5 separate regions of the Homo sapiens genome follow, and regions 1, 2, 3 and 4 are each linked to region 5. The links are contacts of gene promoters, found by promoter capture Hi-C in blood cells and fetal thymus (Javierre and others, 2016). All regions are on one chromosome and are shown on one strand. Each heading gives the region's core, a stretch centred on a gene start or on the middle of the fragment in contact. The rest is flanking DNA. Distances are from core to core; before and after follow the strand shown.

Region 1 (2,700 bases), core at 4-2,503, 970 kb after region 5:
TGTACCCTGTGTACTAAGTCACCGGGCAGGGCCCCAGGGTACTTGTGTGGGCCTGCACTCGCCCCTTGAGTTATCCCTATACCCAAGGGAGCGTGACAGTAAATAGCATATTAAAACTGCATGGTAAGTTGAGAGAGAGACCATGGAAGAAAGGAAAAAGCTTTTCTATTTTTTGAACAGGGAGCTCCCACTTTTCATTTCCATTAGGCCCCACAGATTGTAAGTGGGCTATGCAGTAGGAATGTCTCCCCCAGCATACGCTGTGTGTGAGGGGAAAGACGTGAGCTCAGCCAGAGAGGCAAGGCCTTTTGGGCCATGGTAAGTTTATACTTTACCTTAGGAAAAATAGGGACCCTGTGAGGCATTTTAAGCATGGGTTGATAGGATCAAATTTGTGTTTTTAAATGATCACTTTGGCTGTAGTGTGGAGGGCCGATTGGGTAGGGACAGAATAGGGGCCAGGAGTCCAGTTAGGAGGGCAGGACAATAACTGAGTTAGAGATAATAGTGGCCTGAACTAGCGCAGGGGCAGTAAGGATGACAAATTAACACAATTGATAGCTAATAAAGAGAGTTGATAGGACATGCTGATAACTTGGATAATAACAACAAACATACACAGCACTTACTATGGGCCAGACACTGTTCTAAACACTTTCTATATATTTAGTTCATTTGCTTTTGATAACAACCTTGTGAAGTAGGTACAGTTTTTATCCCCATCTTACAATGAGGAAACTGAGGCACAGAGAGGTTAAGTAACTTGTCCAAGATCCCACAGCTAGTAAGTGGCACAGCCAGGATGCAAACCCAGAGAATCTGGACCTAAAGTCAGTGTTCTTAACTTGATGCTAGAACGTCTACTTCAGGGTATAGTGGAGGGAGAGGGCTAGAGGTGAATCAGTGATGGCTGCCAGGTTTCTGGCTTGAATGCCTGGTGAGGTTATGGAGCCATTTGCAGAAGTGGGAAACCTAAGAGAAGGGAGCATGTTTAGGTGACAGACAGAAGGAGAAACTGAGTTTGGACATGTTGAATTTGAAGTACGTAAGTGGCTATCCAGTAGAAATGTCTCACCCAGGAGACATTTGGAGGGAAGGGTCTAATCTGGCTTGGAGTTATGAGTGCATAGAGGGCACATGGAGCCCTGGGAGTGAGAACAGTGAGGAAAAGTGAGGAGAAAAGAGTGCCCAGGTAAGAGGACCTAAGAAACTTCAACATTTAAGGACTGGGCAGGAGAAAAAGAGTTCATCGGGAAAAAGGAACAGCCAAAGACATGATTAAAATCACATCACATCCCTACTCATAGTGGCTGTTACTCCCCAGTTCTTGTGGCTACCCAGGAAAAGCCAGAGTGCTTTACAGTGGCCTACAACACCCTACTACATGAGTCTATTGCCTTTCTGACTTATTACTGTCCTCCTACCTCTCTACTCTAGAACACTCTCCTCCTCTCTGCTACCTTCGGAGTCTAGGGATGCTCCCACCACAGGGCTTTTGTACTTGCTGTTCTTATTGGGATGCTCTTCCTTCATAGCCACATGAGGGGCTTGCTCCCTTACTCCCTTTGGGTCTTTATTCAAAAGCCATTTTGTCAGTCTTTCCCTGTCTTCCCTATCTAATATTTCACCCTCACTACCATTCTTCCTGGCCCCCCCATTGTGTGTGTGTGTGTGTGTGTGTGTGTGTGTGTGTGGTGTGTATAGTTATATATTCACACATACATATTCCTCTATATCCCCCTTCCTGTTTTTTTTTCTACCTAGGTCTTCTCACTATCCAGCATACAATGTGTTTCACCAATTGCATTGATTTATCTTGTTTCTTGTCTGCCTCCCCACTAGAACATCAGCTCTATGAGGGCAGGGATTTTTGTATGCTTTGTTTTTTGTCTTCGTCTCACCAGCACCTAGACCAGAGCCTGGCGGATGCTCATTAAATGTCAGCTGAAGGAATGGGCACCAGCCAGATGGGACGTTATAGAAGTCAAGGATAGAGAGCTTGTCAGGTGGAGAGTGTACAGGGTTGGCAGGGCGAAAATGGTGCTAAGAGGTTAAGGGAGATAAAGCAGAGAAGTACTTATTGCATATATCAACAAGGAGGTCAGGAAACCAGTGAGATCTATTTTAAAGAAGGTGGGGACTAAGATCAGACTAGCAGGAGATGAATCACAAAGTGCATATAGCAACCCTAAAAAAGTATCGATTTGGCTCTGATAGAACACCTCTGGATACTACTAGGCAGCTAAGGGTGGGAGGGAGACTTTTTACTGTATATACTTCTGTACTCTGAGTTTTGCACCATGTACAGCTGTTACTTATTCAAAAGAGGAGTCATTATCAAGCTTCGTAGGTTTATTTACTTCATTTTTAAGCTGCATAGGTTTAAAGAAAGAATGTGTTTGGCTGTGAAGGGGCGGACAGAAGGGAGGGAGGATGGGAGGGCGGGTAGGTCTTGGTTTTTTAATTTGTAAACATCAATAGACTTGTTTAAATGCTATTGTGAAGAGAAAGAGAGAGATTGAAGATACTGCAGAAAGAAGGAATAATTGATTGAGAAGGTAAGAAAACATGTGACCCAGGTGGAAAACTTGGCTTTAGAAGGAAGGAAAGATAGTACTTTTGTTGTGATAGGAAAAAAAGGATGGGTGTAGAAGGAGGTAGATTGGTGATGAGAAGTTAAGGTAGTTCACCTCTGATTAC
Region 2 (2,700 bases), core at 146-2,645, 960 kb after region 5:
CTCAGTTACTCATGAGGCTCTGGCGGAAGGACCGCTTGAGTCCAGGAGTTCTAGGGTGCAGTGAGCTATGACCGCCCAGCCTGAGTTGACAGAGTGAGACCTTGTCTCTAAAACAACAAACATAAAAAAAAAAAAAAACCCTAAACCATCCTCTGGGTAAGTCACAAATATGAGACTAAGCTACCCCTGCTCAAAAACCTGTGTTTTCTTTTTGCTAACTGCATACAATCTAAACTCTTTTGCATTTCGCAATCTTTCATGTTGTGACCCTTTACTGTTTGACCTCCTACCTATCTCTCTTCTGTTTTCCTTGTTCCAACAATATTCAACTTCTAGTAAATATTTTTCTATGTGCCTCCATGCATTTGTACACGTTGATCCTTTTGAGTACAATGTTCTCGCTTGTTTATTTAAGTGAACTTAATCGTCCATGTCCCCCTGCCGTCTTTCTTACAGCAGCTGCAAGCAGCTTGTAAGGCTCTTTTGTAGCTTCATGTTGCATTTTGCAAAGGTCATTTTGCAGGTGGTATTTGTGTGCTTACTGTGCCTTCTATTCCAATTGTTTACTCGCAACTTTGTTTCCTGCACTGGCAGATGCCCTCCCACTCCAGAGGCCCTGTTTTCACCATTGCATCCCCAGGGCCTACCCCACCATCACTGGTTAGTAAATTGTGTGCACGCACACATTTCCTTTTTAAAGCAATGGGACCCTTTAAGAAAATGAAATAGTAAGATAACTCCTAGAGAATTTTCTAGAATGTTTGAGAAAACCTAGGCCATCTTGAAGCATATGTACGAAGCTCCACTAACTCAGCAAAGCTCCACTAACTCAGCCTTTCCTCTCATCCCCCCTCCTCTCCCCTCCCCTCAGGCTATAGTCAGAAAATTGTGGGACAGGTGCAAACAAATCCTTGAACTGTATTTGAACTGAAGTGAAACAGTAGGGTCAAAGAAGAGTTCAGAGGGAGTTGTGGAGTTGGCAGCAGCTTTACAGAGGAACTACACTGAGGGCCTGGGGACAGAACGCGGGTAGCACAGGGCACAAGGTTCAACGTCCCTGCTCCGGGACTCAAGTCACTTGGCTTCTCGAAGCCCCTGCCTTCATTTGGTGATAATCACAGAGCTTCCTTCACAGGGGGAAGAACCAACAACGCAGAGACCGTGGGAAAGAGCCCAGCCTATCGAAGGTGCTCAATGAACAGGAGCCGCGGTGAGTACTCCGCCTCTACCCCGGCTGAAGCCCGCCCCCGCCGCCACCTATTAATTTTGTAGTTTGGAGTCACCGAGTTCACCTCCTCTCATAGGAGGAGAAGGCTGGGGAGGAGGAGTGTGCGAGTCGGGGTAGCTGAACTCCCTGTTTGCCCGGAGGAGGGGGAAGGCTAGGAAGTTTCGGGCCCCACTCAAAATGGAGCCAAACGTCTGCCTCGCCTAAGATGGCGGCTTCTCCGCCTCTGGGCTCAAGGTCTTCAGCGGCGATTGGGCACCTTAAAGAGACGAGCGGGTCCAAAGGTGGCTGAGAACCGCCCTCCTTTCTCAAGGTGGCGCCCCGCCCCCCCGATGACGTCACCCGGGAGCCGGCGGCTCGCGGTTCCCCGCCTCCGCCGCGCTCACCTCGCGAGTCCAGCCCTCATAAGATGGCGGTCGCCTTGGTTGTCTGGGTAGCGCCGCCACTCTCAACATGGTAGCTGTTTATCCCGTATTTCTCCTCCCCTCTCCGCCTCAACTTCCTCATTGTTTTGAATAAACTTTATTGACTACTCCGAATTGCCTACCACCGCCACTGGGCTTCTCCCAGCGACTTTTCGGGCCGTGTGCCTCGGACGTGGCGGCCGGTTCATCTCTTTCCCCGTTGGTTTGCTCGCGAGTATCTCCTGCCGGCCCAGCGACGACGCCACTTGCCCGTTCGCCGGGCGGCCGCCAGACTAGGCCCAAGCCGCGGTCTCCAGTAGGCCCGAACGGCCGGGCCGAGGGGAATGTTGTGGAGGAGGCTGCTCTGAAGCACCGTTGAGCGGCTGGCGCCGCGCGACCCAGCGGGGGGCTCGAGGGGAAGGCGAGCGAGGTTCCCGGCGGTACGGGGACTATCCCAGAATTCGACGCGCGTCGCCGTAGGGGCCGGAACTACCGGACGAGCCTCCGCTGAGGCGCTTCGCAGTCCCGGAGCTAGCCCGGCTGCCGGCGTGTCGCTGGGGCTGAGCTCCGCGGGCGTGGAGTCCTTGCAGCCCAAAGCATGAGGAGGTCCCTGTAGGATTCTGGACTGAAGACGTTCTTGTCAGGTTTGGGGCGTGAGGAGGTTCCTGTCAGTTGGGGAAGCGTTAAGATTCCTGTAAGTTTTGGGGGCTGCGAGGCTATTACTGTCAGTTTTAGGATATACTGTGAGGTACCTGAACATTTGGGGAGACTAGGGAGCTCTCATCAGTTTGAGGGGGGGCTGCAAGGAAACGCTGCCAGTTTCCGAGCGATGCAAAAGAATCCTTGCTTAGTTTCGGGAGTGTGAGGAAATTCTAGTCAGTTTGAGGGGTTTTGAATAGATCCTTTTGAGTTTCAGGGATGCAGCCAGAACCCTGTCATCTTTAAAGTACAGAACGAGCTGGTCAGTTTAGAGATTTATATTTATTTCAGTTTTGGGGGTGATGAGACTCCTGACTGGTCGGGGAAGGAATGATATTGAGAGTGATGGAAAGGATTATTTAAACTCTCCGA
Region 3 (2,700 bases), core at 99-2,598, 710 kb before region 5:
CTTATGATACAGGAGCGGGGCAGGAAAGTGCTGGGCAGAGAAAGGCGGGTCCGTGGCTAGGGCTCCACCCTGGGGCCTGTGCCCATGGACCTAGGTGAGGATAGGCACTCCTGCCTTCCCACCCAAATGTTATATTCACCCCTAGAGGTTGCCATGGGGTCGGAGCCCCACAGCCTGCCCCTCTGCATGCTCCCCCTAGAGGTTGTGAAGCAGTGAGCCACTCCCGCTGTGGCATGCCCTGCAAGGGGGATAGGGGAACTTCCCTCGTTTCACTTACAGCACCCAGACCAGTAATCTGGCCCAGCCAGTTCTGCGATCCCACCCAGGAACAGAAGATAGCAAGAAAAACTCACTTAGAGCCCCCTATGATTCCATATCCAACTTGACCAGTCAACACTCCCCACTTCCCAAGCCCCTACCCACCAAATTATTGTTAAAAATTTCAATCCCCCGAAACTGATTTGAGTAATAAAACTGCAGTCTCACCCACAGCTGGCTCTGCATGAATTACTCTTTCTCCATTGCAATTCCCCTGTCTTGATAAATCAGCTCTGTCTAGGCAGCAGGCAAGGTGAACCCGTTGGGCAGTTACACTGTCTGCTCCCACACTTTCCACTTGAGGTCCTGTGTGATTCCTTTTCTCCACAACTGCCTTGCCTCAAGAAAAAAGTTATTCTACTCTGATTAGTGATCCTTCGCTCTATCACTAGCTAATCTTTTGTCTCCTTCCAACCAACTACCCCCAAACAAGCTTCCATTCTGGCTTTCCTTGTCTGATGAAAGATCCTGAGTCCCAAACCAGGAAGTCACCTTAGATTCACTGCCCTCCATACGTGTCAATGAGACCAGGTCATGATCAGTCTATTTTCTACTACCTGCCTGCTCTTATTCTTACTGCCACTCTTTTTGTTCCAGCTATCATAATCTCTGGCCTAGATATCCACAATAGCCTACTAAGTGATTTTCCCACAGTGGCAGCTCCAAAGGGGTTGGGAGTGAGTGAGTTGATCTTCATTAGTCATCTCATCCCCCAAAACATTTGACGTAATTAATATGTGCTTGCTTTCTAAAGGCAGCTTTCAAATATGTCTTCCAACACCTACTGCCCCCGGGCTTCACCAGCCAAATTGGCCCCTTAAACCACTCTTTTATAAAAATGTACTGTCTCGGCCAGGTGCAGTGGCTTACACCTGTAATCCCAGCACTTTGGGAGGCCAAAGTGGGCGAATCACCTGAGGTCAGGAGTTCGATACCAGCCTGGCCAACATAGTGAAACCTCATCTGTACTAAAACTACAAAAATTAGCCAGGTGTGGTGGCACGCGCCTATAATCCCAGCTACTCGGGAGGCTGAGGCAGGAGAATTGCTTGAACTCAGGAGGCGGAGGTTGCAGTGAGCCAAGATCGCACCACTGCACTCCAACCTGGGCGACAAAGCAAGCAAAAAAAAAATACTGTCTCCCTGTTGCTGCTGGTATCCTTTTCCCCCTCCTTCAAACCATCCATCCTCTCTAAAAGCTGCTCAAGTGATCCTTTATTTTAATTAATTAATTAACTAGTTTTTGTTGAGACTGGGTCTCACTTTGTTGCCAGACTCAAACTCCTGGCCTCAAGGGATCTGCCCACCTTGGCCTCCCAAGGTGCTGGGATTACAGGTGCGATCAAATTTCTTTTTATCGTCGTTGTAGTTGTTGTTGTTCTTGTTGTTTTTGAGACAGGGTTTTGCTCTCTGACCCAAGCTGGAGTACAGTGGCACAATCATGGCTCACTGCAACCTCAACTTGAGTAATCTTTTAAACCACAAATCGGAGGAGACTACTTCTCTACTTTAAAATCCTCCCATAACTTAAGGAAAAAGTGTGTCAATACAAGGACCTTCAAGATCTGGCCTATAGCAACTCACGAGCTATATTTCTCTACCCACATTCACTACCTCACAAGCTTCATAAGGAACTGCTGATAGTTGCCTCAAAGTGCCAAGAGGCAAGAAGTAAGAAGAGGAAGAAACAGATAAAGAAGGGGAGGGGAGGGATGAAGAAGAAAAGGGGGAGAAGTGGGGAGATGGGAAAGAGGGAAGGAATAGAGGGGTAAGGAGAAGAGGAAAAAGGAGGAAGAGGGGTAGAAGGAAGGGAATGGAAGAAAGGTAGTGGAAAAGGATTGAGAAACTAAATCAAATAAGCATAGATTCCAAATAATGGTGAATAGGGCCAATGTGCAGTGCATTCCTATTGTAAATCAAAAATAAAATACCAAGGTTCCTCAACCATTTGAATGTGCTTTCTCCTCGGCCAGGGCACTCTTTAAAAATGTATCCTGAGTGACTTTCTGGCCATGACAGGAAGTAGGGGTCAAACATGCCTCATTATATTTCTCCAGCTTTAACATCAACACAGACCTTTAAATCTGATAAGAAGCATTTACATTCTATTCTTTCTGAACCTGCAGGCTTCCTGCATGATTAAACTTTAGTCTCCACAACCTCTTATCTTAACCCAAACATTCCTTTCTATTGATCCTAGGTCTTTAAACTCAACCAATTGTCAACCAGAAATTTTTTCAATCTACCTATAAGCTGGAAGCCCCCCTCCCACCCCCACTCCGAGTTGTCCCACCTTTCTGGGCCAAACCCATATATTTCTTACATGTATTTGACTGAAGTCCCTTGTCTCCCTAAAATGTATAAAACCAAGCTGCACCGCAG
Region 4 (2,700 bases), core at 34-2,533, 560 kb after region 5:
ATAACACATTATACCCTCATGCCACAGAACTTGAGTGTTGCTCTCTCTGCTTCCCCCACCTAGTTAACTCCTTCTCACTAAGACCCAGCCCAATTCACCACCTCCACTAAGAAGCTGTCTCCCCATCCTGTTACCCCATGCACCCTGAGCTCCTCTTTATCAGAAAATCTATCAATGTTGTAACTATTTACGTGTGTGGATCCTCAATGGATAGTATACTTTCTTGAGAGAGATGACTCTGCCTAATGTCATCTCCAAAGCTAGAAATTGAATGAAGATTTTTTTAAAAACCATACTATGCAACAGGCCCTCTACTGGGCCTCTTGTTCTTGTATATCCCTCAAGACGAGCCTACAGTGTAGATCTTTGCTGTCCAAACAGCCACAGGTGGTTACTGAGCACTTGAAATATGGCTAGGCCAAATCGAAATGTGCTAAAACTGTAAAATACCAGATTTTGAAAACTTAATACTAAAAAATGTAAAATATCTCAATGTTTTATACTGACTACATGTTGAAATATTTCATACACACCGAGTTTACTAACATTGATTTCATCTGCTTTTTGCTTTATTAAAGTGGCTACTAAAAAATTTTAAATTATATGTGACTAGCATAATATTTCTACTGTACAGCGCTCTGGTGGATACTTTTATACGCATTTTAGAAACTAGGAAACTGAGTCTCAGGGAGGTAAACTGCCTTGTCCAGAGTAATCCCACGAGTCAGTGGTACAGCCCGTAAAGCACTGGAATCCAGGATTCTGATTCTAAAAGCTGAATTCATTCCACCTCACCTTTAGGTACCAATCCACAACTGCTCGAGAGGAAATGCAGGCTCTGCGGGATGGGGCTCCTCCTCTCCACACCCCCACACAGGCGGGTCGCGGCGCCTCACATTCACTCACCATTGCGCATGAAGTAATCCTCCACTGCACCCCCCAGCCACTTGGCCTTCTCCTGGCTGTGCACACCCCCGAAGCCATTCTCCACAGCGATCTGTAAACACAGGTCCAAGCCCACCAAGTCAGCTTGGGAGCAGACCTGGAGTAGCCTGGAGGCCGCTTACGCCGCCCAGCCAACTCCTCTTATGCCGCCTAGCCAAGCCTCAGGCACCTAGCCCAACCAACTCCTGTTCTGCCCCGGGCCCTAACCTTGACCTTGCCCTGGCCCTGGCCCCACTGACCTGCAAGGCCGGCCAGGCCTCCAGGGCCGCGCAGACCCCAGCCCGGAAAAGAGCTCGCGCATCTTCTGCAGCGCCCGCCATTATCCGGCCCCAGTCCACGTGACGTCCCGGCGGCCCAATCCCTCTGTAGCTCGGCCCAGGCAGAACGAGACGCAAGCCGAGCCTGAGAACACAGGATTCTCTTTTCCGCAGACCTGGCAGCAAGACTAGAGCAAAAGAAAAATCTGTCAGAGCGATCGATGACACCACCAGAGTTACTCACTTAAATCAAAGGACACCAGACCTGAAGGACGTGTGGGGCCATGGTTTCCGGATCCGTGGGTACTGCGGAGGAAATATGTGGGGAACTTATTACAGATACAGATTCCAGGCCCTGGGGCAGAGGACTCAGTGAGTATAGCCTTAAAAATCTGCATTTAAAAAAAGCATCCTAACATCTGTATAGAATACTGCAACCAACAACAGTAAAATACAATCAGCTCTCCCTATGGGGGGCAGTCCACGTCCGTGAATTCAACTAACCTCAGATGGAAAATATTCAGGAAAAAATTGCATCTGCATTGAACATGTGTATACTTTTTTTCTTGACATTATTCTCCTAAACAGTACAGTATAACAGCTATATACATAGCATTTACACTTTATTAGGCATTATAAGTAACCTGGAAATTATTTATTTATCTATTTTTTTGAGACCGAGTGTCACTCTGTGGCCCAGGCTGGAGTGCAGTGGCGCCATCTCGGCTGACTGCAACCTCCGTCTCCTGGTTTCAAGCAATTCTCGTGCCTCAGCCTCCCGAGTACCTGAGATTACAGGTGCCCACCACCACTCCCAGCTAATTTTTGTGTTTTTAGTAGAGACAGGGTTTCGCCATGTTGCCCAGGCTGGTCTCGAACTCCTGGGTTTAATCCACTTGCCTCAGCCTCCCAAATTGCTGGGATTATAGGCGTGAGTCACATCTGGAAATGATTTAAAGTATACAGTAGAATATTCATAGGTTATACGCAAATACTATGCCATTTTATATCAGGGACTTGAGCATCTATGAATTTTGGTATCCTCCGGAGGTCGTGGAACCAGTCTCCCACGGATACCCAGGGATAACTGTACATGTTTTTCTGAAGTACACAAGAACATTCTCCAGAACAGATCATACACTAGGCCATACAGTAGGCCTCCATAGATTTAACAGGATTGAACATACAAAGTATGTTGTCTGACCACAATGGAAAGAAGTTAAAAATCAGTAAAAAGAAACTTACAAAATTCACAAATATATGGAAATTAACACACTCCTAAGCAATAAATGGGTCAAAGAAAAAAATCACAAAGCAAATTAGAAAACACTTTTAAATGAATGAAAACAAAAACATAAAAAAATGCATGAGATGCAGCTAAAGCAAAACTTAGAGGGAAATCTTTAGCTGTAAACATGCATATCTAAAAAGAAGAGCCGGACATGGTGGCTCATGCCTGTAATCATAGCACTTTGGGAGGTTGATGCGGGAGGATGGC
Region 5 (2,700 bases), core at 198-2,697:
AGGTCCAGTAGGATAATTCTATCCATAAAAATTATATTTCATGTAATTTACTATTATGCAGCTTTAGCTCTGTAAACTAAATGTCTAAGATTTCTTATTACCCTCTCATCAAATATTGGAAACCCTTTTCCCCTATCTGCCTCCCTCACTAATTTAAAGTCCACAGAAAGCCCCATTTACCAGAATAGCCGCTACGGTTGCGGCTGAAGCTGAAATAGGAGTTATAACCCTCAACGATAGCCAGGGGCTCTGTCAGTGCATCCCCTGGAAAAAAAAAATGTAAGATTAAGTCAGAGGTAAAACTAGCATCCGAGAAACACAAAGGCCTGGAATTACAGTTGTAGGCTAATTCCTTGCACACATCAGAGCCAGAGTTGGGGGTGACGGGAATGAAATATCCATGATTAGAGGAGGACCTAGAAAGATGGGAAATGTCAGAGAGGAAATTGATATCAGAATTAGAAGGCTTGGTGGGGGGCGGTTAGAGACTATGAAGTGGAGGTGGAGAATTAGGTGGGAAGGGGAAAGAATCAGAGCTAAGCCTGGGGGTCTGAACGATAGGAGGAAGCTGGGGATGGGGATGGACATACGAGAGGATGGTGGGAATCTGAGCTAAGGGTGAGAGGTAAGAGAGAGGGAATTAGGGGATCTGAACTGGGGGTGGAGGGAAAAGGAATTAGGGGATTCTGAGGGGAGATAAGAGGGTGAAGAAATAAGAGGACATCTAAGCTTGGGGTGGGAAATGAGGTGGGAATTAGGGACTTTCCGCTGGGAGGAGAGATGGGAATAGATAAGGGGTACTGGGGTTCTGAGGTGGAAATGTGAAAAAGAGGAAATTAGACTGAGCTGGGGTCAAAGATGGGGTGGGAATTAGAGGATCTGAGCTTGGGGCAGGGATGAAGAATTCGGGGGTTTGACTTGGCGGCGGGGAGATGGACAGCGTATGGAAGGAGGAAATTCAGGGGACTGAGTTTGGGGCCGGAGAATGAGTGGGAATCTGACTAGATATGGGGTTTCGAGAAGGAGCTAAAGTTTGCTGAAGACAGGAGATGGAGTGCAATTAGGGGATCTAGCTAGGGTGGGAAATGGAAGTTTAAGAGGGAAGGGACCTGGGTCTAAGGACAGGACTCTAAGAATAGGAAACTGGGAAAGTAAAATTACATGGGACAGGGGACAAAAGTTAGCGGGAAAGAAAAAGTATGTAGGGATCCTGGAATCCAGAGCGCTCACTGGTCACTTTGGTTTCCTGGAGACAGACGATATCCGCATCCAGCTCGTCCAAAATGCGCCCCACGGCCACGGCGGCACAGTTGCTGGGTTCCTGATTTGCCACCCCTTGCAGGGGTCTCCGAATCCCATTGATGTTCCAGCTCACCACGCGCAACATCTTAAAGGGCTGGAACACCTCCCAGCCCGCGCCAACCTAGGCGCGAGCGAACTGCTTCCTGTTCAGAAGTTGGCCAGGCCCGCCTCCCGCGCGCGTTTGCGCAGGCGTTCTCGTGCGTACCACTAAAGCGCCTGACGCACGTCGGGCGGGGGCTTCAACTTCCTCAGCTCTCATTGGCGGGAGGAGGAACTGGGTGGACGCTGAAGGAAGCAAAGCGGAAGCCTAGGGGCAATGAATGGCGAGAGGAGTTTCCAGTTGGGCTCCCGCTCCTTCCGCTCGGACAGCTGAGTCTCAATGCGTTTTTCCTCTACTCAGAAGTCCAAGTGGTGCGTCCGGTTACTTACAAACGGCATTTTGCCACTTTTTAAGCGACGGAACCCTGAGCGGAACTGCTCAGCTGCCAAAGCCCCGCCCTCAGTGCGGCGGACCGCCCACCTAAGTTCACAGATGGCTGCAGCGCTTGCGCCCCAGGAATAGCTGGCGCTAAGTGCTCGCGTTGGACTGGGCAAAGGGAAGTTCATGGTTGGAGGAGGGAGCAGTAAGAGTCGCTCCACTGAGATAAGACTTAGGAGGAGGGCCTTTGGCTTTATTGGGGCAGAGGGGAGGAGGAGGAGGCTGTCTCAAGCCTGCCCTGTAGCTTTTGTCTTGGCTCTTAACATTCTGAAGGATGTAGCCGGACACATCCTTACTCTTGGTTCTGTTTCTCAGATAAGTGAAATCGAAGCCCAGGAAATGTAAGCTCGTGAGCAGCATTGTCTCCGGATGCATCCATGGCTCTTCTGTATATGTTATCTCATTTCATTCTCAAGACAACCCAGTTCGGGACATGGAGGCTAAGTTAGAGACGTCGAATGAATTCATTTCATTCTCACAGTTCACTCTCTCTTACACTGAAGTAGTAGAGCCAGGATTCACACCCTGTCTTAATTAGCTCAATAATTACTTTTCTGAGTGTTTTTACTGACCACACACCTCCCCAGTTAAGTCTTTTCCTCTGGGGCCCCACGGCACCCTATGGTCCATTCTGTCACAGTACTTATAATACACAGCTATCATTGACTTCTATTTCTGCTGCCATTAGAATGCCAGCAACTTGAGAGCAATGACCATGTCTGGTTCATCTTGTTAGCCCCATCCCCTAATACTGGACACAGCATATGTTGGGAAGCAATAGATATTTGTCAGGTGAATGAATGAACAAAGGATAATAGCAAGAGCATCGACAGGTTCATGGCTTGTTTTTGAGAGCACAAAAATTAGAAGTAATGGATATGCCCAATGTCCAGGGAAAAGCATAACGATGCATCTTTAGG

Evidence for each region. The method cuts DNA at HindIII sites, captures the fragments that hold promoters and counts their contacts. A CHiCAGO score of 5 or more calls a contact.
Region 1: a contact is called between a fragment that was not itself captured here and the fragment with the promoter of APEX2 in region 5, in 1 of 17 cell types (naive CD8 T cells). The highest score is 5.2, in naive CD8 T cells.
Region 2: a contact is called between a fragment that was not itself captured here and the fragment with the promoter of APEX2 in region 5, in 12 of 17 cell types (fetal thymus, total B cells, naive CD8 T cells and 9 more). The highest score is 15.1, in fetal thymus.
Region 3: a fragment that was not itself captured here is called in contact with the fragment with the promoter of APEX2 in region 5 in 4 of 17 cell types (M2 macrophages, activated CD4 T cells, monocytes and 1 more); the score reaches 7.5 in M2 macrophages.
Region 4: a contact is called between the fragment with the promoter of TSR2 here and the fragment with the promoter of APEX2 in region 5, in 2 of 17 cell types (total B cells and monocytes). The highest score is 6.0, in total B cells.

Annotation. Positions count from the first base shown.
Region 1 is chrX:54,026,979-54,029,678 of GRCh38, reverse strand. The region is part of intron 2 of PHF8 (PHD finger protein 8); the gene reads left to right. Among named protein-coding and RNA genes, the nearest start is that of PHF8, 16 kb to the left of the region's middle. The HindIII fragment of the contact is 2,182 bases long and covers 163-2,344 here.
Region 2 is chrX:54,043,385-54,046,084 of GRCh38, reverse strand. PHF8 (PHD finger protein 8) reads left to right here and starts at 1,612. Exons shown (of 22, transcript NM_015107.3): 1 at 1,612-2,323. RefSeq lists enhancers at 1,021-1,480, 1,691-1,940 and a silencer at 1,501-1,670. The HindIII fragment of the contact is 3,125 bases long and covers 1-2,700 here.
Region 3 is chrX:55,713,517-55,716,216 of GRCh38, reverse strand. No RefSeq gene overlaps it. Among named protein-coding and RNA genes, the nearest start is that of RRAGB, 2.9 kb to the left of the region's middle. The HindIII fragment of the contact is 1,189 bases long and covers 754-1,942 here.
Region 4 is chrX:54,438,987-54,441,686 of GRCh38, reverse strand. TSR2 (TSR2 ribosome maturation factor) reads right to left here and starts at 1,283. Exons shown (of 5, transcript NM_058163.3): 1 at 1,185-1,283; 2 at 907-997. The coding sequence starts at 1,265. RefSeq lists an enhancer at 1,516-1,565. The HindIII fragment of the contact is 25,574 bases long and covers 1-2,700 here.
Region 5 is chrX:54,999,110-55,001,809 of GRCh38, reverse strand. It overlaps APEX2 (apurinic/apyrimidinic endodeoxyribonuclease 2), which reads right to left and starts at 1,447. Exons shown (of 6, transcript NM_014481.4): 1 at 1,231-1,447; 2 at 181-264. The coding sequence starts at 1,387. RefSeq lists a silencer at 1,427-1,566. The HindIII fragment of the contact is 4,396 bases long and covers 732-2,700 here.